Linked DNA regions of Homo sapiens: region 2 is linked to region 1. Evidence: promoter capture Hi-C in 16 types of primary human blood cells and fetal thymus (Javierre and others, 2016). All regions are on one chromosome and are shown on one strand. Each heading gives the region's core, a stretch centred on a gene start or on the middle of the fragment in contact. The rest is flanking DNA. Distances are from core to core; before and after follow the strand shown.

The links. Contacts are between HindIII fragments. The CHiCAGO score rates a contact against its expected background, and 5 or more counts as called.
Region 2: a fragment that was not itself captured here is called in contact with the fragment with the promoter of IQCA1-AS1 in region 1 in 1 of 17 cell types (naive B cells); the score reaches 6.6 in naive B cells.

What each region holds. Positions count from the first base shown.
Region 1 is chr2:236,389,417-236,392,652 of GRCh38, forward strand. It overlaps IQCA1-AS1 (IQCA1 antisense RNA 1), which reads left to right and starts at 1,658. Exons shown (of 2, transcript NR_174961.1): 1 at 1,658-2,052; 2 at 2,879-2,960. DRC11 (dynein regulatory complex subunit 11) reads right to left here. Exons shown (of 19, transcript NM_024726.5): 10 at 2,828-2,934; 11 at 2,560-2,655. RefSeq lists an enhancer at 1,978-3,177. The HindIII fragment of the contact is 7,674 bases long and covers 1-3,236 here.
Region 2 is chr2:237,017,815-237,021,050 of GRCh38, forward strand. All of the region lies in intron 1 of COPS8-DT (COPS8 divergent transcript), which reads right to left. Among named protein-coding and RNA genes, the nearest start is that of COPS8-DT, 66 kb to the right of the region's middle. The HindIII fragment of the contact is 4,861 bases long and covers 1-3,236 here.

The DNA.
Region 1 (3,236 bases), core at 408-2,907:
CCAATTTTCCAGGTGCCGTCCGTCACCCCTTTCTTTGACTCAGAAAGGGAACTCCCTGACCCCTTGCGCTTCCCGAGTGAGGCAATGCCTCGCCCTGCTTCGGCTCGCGACCGGTGCGCGCACCCACTGACCTGTGCCCACTGTCTGGCACTCCCTAGTGAGATGAACCCGGTACCTCAGATGGAAATGCAGAAATCACCCGTCTTCTGCGTCGCTCACACTGGGAGCTGTAGGCCGGAGCTGTTCCTATTCGGCCATCTTGGCTCCTCTGCCTGTCATTTTTGTCTTGAGATATTTTCTAATTTCCCTGCGAATTTTTTTCTTTGACTCAATGGTTATTCAAGAGTGTGTTGTTTAATTTCCGCATATTTGTGAATTTTTCTGTATTCTTTTTGTTATTGATTTCTAGTTTCATTTCATTGCAGCTGGAAGTTACTTGGAATGTTTTCAATATTCTTATATTTATTAAGACTTGTTTTGTGACTTAGCATGTGATATATCCTGGAGAATGTTCCATGCATACTCGAGAAGAATGTGTATTCTGGTGCTGTTGGGTACAATAACTGTTAGGACTATCTGGTCCCTAGTATTATTCAAGTCTGCTGTTTCCTTATTGATTTTCTGTCTGGATGATACATTCATTACTGAGAGTGGGATAGTGAGTTCTCCTACTATTATTGTATTGCTGTCTATTTCTCCCTTCAGATATGTTAATATTTACTTCATATATTTAGGTGCTTTGATTAAAGGTGTATATATAATTGTTATATCTTCCTATTGAATTGACCCTTTTATCATTAGTTAATGATCTTTTTGGTTTCTTGTGATAGTTTTTGATTTGACGTCTATTTTGTCTAAGTATAGCCATTTCTTCTCTCTTTTGCTTATTATTTGCATGAGATATCTTTTTTCCATCCCTTCACTTTCAGCCTATGTGTCCCTAAATCTGAAATGAATCACATGTATATAGCATATAGTTGGATTTTTAAAATCCATTCAGTGACTCTGTATCTTTTGATTGGTGAGTTTAATCCATATACATCTGAAGTATTTTTTGAAAGGTAAGGACTTACTTTTGCCATTTTGTTAGGTTATTTCTATTTTGAGGTTCTTTTGTTCTTCTCTGAAGTTACAAGTTGCTGTGTAACTTAACGATGTTTTGTAGTGATATACTTTGATTCTTTTCTGGTTCTGGGATCCAAAGACAGGCCCAACGCTGATTTTTGTGGGTGGGCCCACAAAAATAAAGCAGCACAATGGTTGCAGTAAATGACTTGCTATTACTACACCACAAAAGTGGAGAAAGCTGCCATAGAAGCAAGGTGCACCCAGGGTTTGTGGGAGGCCCATGGTTCTGGGGTCCAAAGACAGGCCCAGTGCTGATTTTTGTGGGTGGGCCTGGTGTCAGGGTTTGTGGGAGGCCCATGGTACTGGGTTTCACTGGCCTGGTGCTGAGCTCCATGGTGAAGTCAGATGTTCACTTCTCTGTCCCTTTCTTCCAAGATAAAACTCATGGGTCTAGGAGATCTCTCTTGGCACTAGGCTGTGTGGGCTTTGGGGTGACATGGGTAAAGTGAAACTTTCATTCTTACTCTCTTCAGTGCATCTTTTTTTTTATGATTCTGTGCTCCACCCAGGTGCTGCAGCCTCTCACCTGAATCCCAGAGCTCTTGTGAAGTTACTTTCATCTATGGATGGTTATTAAATTGGTGTTTTCAGCTTACAGTGAAAGATCTTCAGAACACCAATTCAGTTGCCTTCAGGGTTAAACCATAATATCAACACAAAATGGATCAAGAGCCAGTCATCCTAAAAAGACCACATGCATGGCCCCTGATCTAGCAAAAGTAGTCACAAATGCAGCTGAATGTGTGGAAACCTCTAAGAGAAAATGTGTGAATCACAGAAAGAGTGGCTCCAGTCATGGAACGTGGAGAAAGCTGCCACAGAAGCAAAGGCTGCCTATGCTCATGCCAGCACTGACAGGGAGAACTCTCCGCCCTCTACCTTGGGTATTCTGGCTCCAATGACAGGGCTGTCTCTGGAATGAAGGTAGAAGCAGGGGCCAAACTAAATGAACTTCAAATACCCTGATCTAACTAGCTACTCTAAACCACTGTGAGATGGATTGGTGGCAACTTACACTTCCAATTCATCCAATTCCTTTCCCTATGATTCCCTCACTCACAAAAACCTGCTCATTACCATTGGCCTCCCTTATAGATCTATGTACAGGAACAGTTGGGGGCTGTTTGGGGAATGTGCTTTGGCTCTTTTGATAGTTCCCATTCTATCAGTGGGGCTTGGGTAATATGAATCTGCAACTGACCGGGGCTGGGGAGATGTTACTCTCAGATGGTTGGGTTTATCCTATTTATGAATCCACAGGCCCAAAGGTTAAATGGTGGACCAATTAAATTTACCAAAGGCAGGCATGTTTCCCCGTGAGGTGTCCTGGCAACAGGCGGCCCTCCTGGACATGCCACAGCATGTCAGGGGCTGCTTTTCATGACTGAATCCGCTCCACCGCACCCCTCTGCAGGCTCCTTCCCCACTCACCTTGTCCTTTTTCTTTCCTGCTTTCACTGGGCGCTCCCTTTCTCTGTCCACAGCTAGCTTTAAGTTTTTAAGTTCCTGTCTCATCAACTCATCAACCTAGGAGAATACAAAACATACTACTTTTAAGTCACTTTGCATGTCTTGTGTTTTGTTTGTGAAGTTTAAAAATCCCTTAAATTATGGGGTAGGTCATTAGTAGGAAATTGTAAAGAAGCACAATGGTTGAAGTAAATGATTTGCTGTTACTACACCATAAACGTAGCTGTACCTGTATCCTGATCTCTGACTGTAATTCTTTTCGTTTCTCCTCTTTGATCAGTTCTGGATCATAGTCCTGAGAGAAATTCCAAGACTCATCTTTTTTCATCCAGATTTCTACACTCCAGAAGGGTAAAGAAAAAGAAAAAGAAAAAATTTTAAAAAGATATAGGTTAATGAAATTTTAAAAAGACGTAGGTTAATTGTAAGTTATTGCAATATAAACATAAGCCTAACTTTATATGTTATTGCATAGGATAAAAGTTTGAATAAAATAAGCTGGACAGATGAGATTCATATATGTGCTTGTAAATGCACTAAAAAAAGAAAAAAAACTGCTGATGTAAAAATATTGAGTTTTAGTTTACTCAATATTTTTTAAGTGTGATACAATAGTATTCTACTGTATTATTATAATC
Region 2 (3,236 bases), core at 185-2,684, 630 kb after region 1:
GATCATGGCTTGCTTTCCAACTGAGCTTTACGATTCTTCTCAACACGGGGCCCTGAACTTACATCTTCAGGCCTATGAGGTGCAAATGTGCTATTGATTGTCCCACCCTGTTCTAGATTATGAGCAGCCATTCTAAGACCTGGGGTTCAGAAAAAAGAGGGATTCCAGAGGAATGCACAATCACTGGTAACTCAGGGGCTTTGATGCAGTCCCAGGCATAGAAAGTTCCTCCTCCTCAGGGTTTGACCATCACATGTCTGCCCGCACCCAGAGCCATCTTCCTCCATCCCTCCTACAGGTCAGGAAGAAAACTGGGTCCTCACCCACTAAACACGTATCGTTGACAGTAATTCCAACAGTGGGAACATCCGTGGCAAAATGTCACTGGGACACTTATTTGGTTTTCTGGGAAGGGAAGAAGAGGAAAAACAAAAAGAACTTGAATTAGTCATTAGCTTTGCATCAGGCATTGAACAGACATGGTATCTCCTTCCATCCCTTGCAGTTCTGAAAGGATGATTATATGTATTCTATCGTATCATTATATATCATGGTTTTTTAGCCACTGGTGTCATTGACAATGCCAGTAACTAAGCCAACCTGTTTGACCAACAACAAATTTGGATGTTTCTGACTTTTTTTTTTAATAGACTTTTGCTGCTACTGTTAACTGCTCAAGGCATTCTAATAGGCACTTAGACCATACCTATGATTAGGAGCTCTTTGCAATTTGCTATTGAGCCCCTAAACAGCAGGCAGACATCAAACGGTCTCTAACATGATTTGAATACCACTGGATTCTTTTGTCCTCTTCTGATTCCCTACCATAATCCTGTACACTCAACCAATAACAATCTTTTGAAGTTTATAACTTTCTTAACTTCAAAGTTTTCTCGATGCCTAAGTAACAGGAGGTTTTCAAGGTGGAAATGCTAAATGAGTATACCATGCACAGTATAAATAACACACATCCAAGGGCATCCAAGACTTCAAAACCATTTGTATTAAGCTAGACAGCAGCTGTGAGAATCTACCCTTGTATGATGTCCTATTATAAATATCAGATTAGAGGAAACTTGGGGAGTGAGGCCTTGTTCATTCATATTGGGTTTTATTAATTTCCCCGCCCCCCCCCCCAAGTACATTCAACATGAGAGCATCTTAACATACCCCAGGGGCATTCCTGTGCATTCATGCAACTGTTCTCATCAAAGGAAAAAAAATACTTCACCCCATTATTTTATGTGGCTTCCAAGAGAGTTTCAACCCTTAAAAATTTATAAGTCCTTTTCATTAGGCCACTATTGTTTGATAGAATCTTAACCTCCTTCTGACACCTTGCTTCCCTAAGTAAAAATGTAATAACAACACTTACAACAATAACAACAACACAATGACAATAATAGTAATGGCAAACACCAGGTGGTCTGCACTTTCTATAGGCTGTGTGCCTCATCTGCATTCTGTCAATGAATCTTTTTTTTTTTTTTTTTGACAGTCTTGCTCTGTCACCCAGGCTGGAGAGCAGTGGTGCAATCTCTGCTCACTGAAACCTCCACCTCCCAAGTTCAAGCGATTCTTATGCTTCAGCCTCCAGAGTAGCTGGGTTACAGGCACGTTCCACCAAGCCTGGCGAATCTTTGTATATTAGTAGAGATGAGATTTCACCCGTGTTGACCAGGCTGGTTTCAAACCCCTGGACTCAAGTGATCCACCTGCCATGGCCTCCCAAAGTACTGGGATTACAGGCATGAGCCACCAAGCCTGGCTGATTTTTGAATATTAGTAGAGATGAGATTTCACCACGTTGACCAGGCTGGTCTCAAACCCCTGGCTTCAAGTGATCCACCCGCCTTGACCTCCCAAAGTGCTGGGATTACAGGCATGAGCCACGATGCCTGGCAATTCTGTCAATTAATCTTTATCAGAGTCCCATTTTAAAGATGTGCAAACTGAGGCTGGGAGAGGTTTAGGCAACTGGCCTAAAATAATGATAAGTAACACATGGATCCAGGACTTGACTACAGCAAAGCCAATATTTTTCTTCTTCTCTTTAAATTGTCTCCCTTTCTTGTTTTTCTATAACCCAGATAAAACATTCCTCAATTGATTGATCCTAGATAATTATATATGCATATGTTTTACTTCTCCAGTGTTTTAATGTCTAAGATCGTCTACAAGTTCTATACATCAGTAATTACTGTATTTCATGAAATGGGAAGTAGCAATTTTTTCGTTTGGCAGCTTGTAAACTCAGTCAGACAGAATCAAATCACTTCCCTGAAGCTCACCACAGGAAGGTAGCCTCATTACCTAAAAAACAGAACAAAAAAGAAAAAGAAAAAGAAAAAAAGGCTCCCTTCTTCATGAGCCTTCCACGAATGCATTCTGCATCTTTATTGCTGCTTTCATTGCTTGGCTCTCGTTAGACTTTTCCCCCAGATGTTCTTAATTTGGGGGTTATTTTCCATTGCATGTGGGCCCTTCAGTACTGTAAATATTTGACTTCAATATTTTCCATAGCTTGAAGAACTTTACAGTGGTCACTTCAGACATGGTTACAGAATGTTCTCTGATCCTTTCAGGCTGCTCTGTAAATTAGAAACTTGGTAGTTGATATCTTGTGGGCTCCACACACCATTTTTTTTTTCTCAGACTTTGATGTCTAAAAGTGCATTGTGTTATTTAGGCCTTAGGCACGTATAGAGATATCCCTGAAGCATAGATCAGGGTGGCTCATATGAATGAATTTTTTCCAATTAATTTATCCTCTATGGTGGGATCTCACATTAAAAATCATATTGTAGGTTTTTTTCTTTTTCTTTTTTTTTTTTTTTTTGAGATGGAGTCTCACTCTGTCGCCCAGGCTGGAGAGCAGTGGCGTGATCTCGGCTCACTGCAACCTCCACCTCCCAGGTTCAAGTAATTCTCTGCCTCAGCCTCCCGAGTAGCTGGGATTACAGGTGCCCACTACCATGCCCGGCTAATTTTTGTATTTTTTAGTAGAGACGAGGTTTCACCATCTTGGCCAGGCTGGTCTTGAACTCCTGACCTTGTGATCCACCCACCTCTCAAAGTGCTGGGATTATAGGCGTGAGCCACTGCATCCAGCCATATTTTAGATTTTTAAAAGATCTCTGCCAGTGGTCTTCAGTGGTACCATCTTCATTCAGCCTTGAGTACGAATCTTTATTATATGAAATGCCCTAAACCCATTCCCTCCCAATCCTAGACTG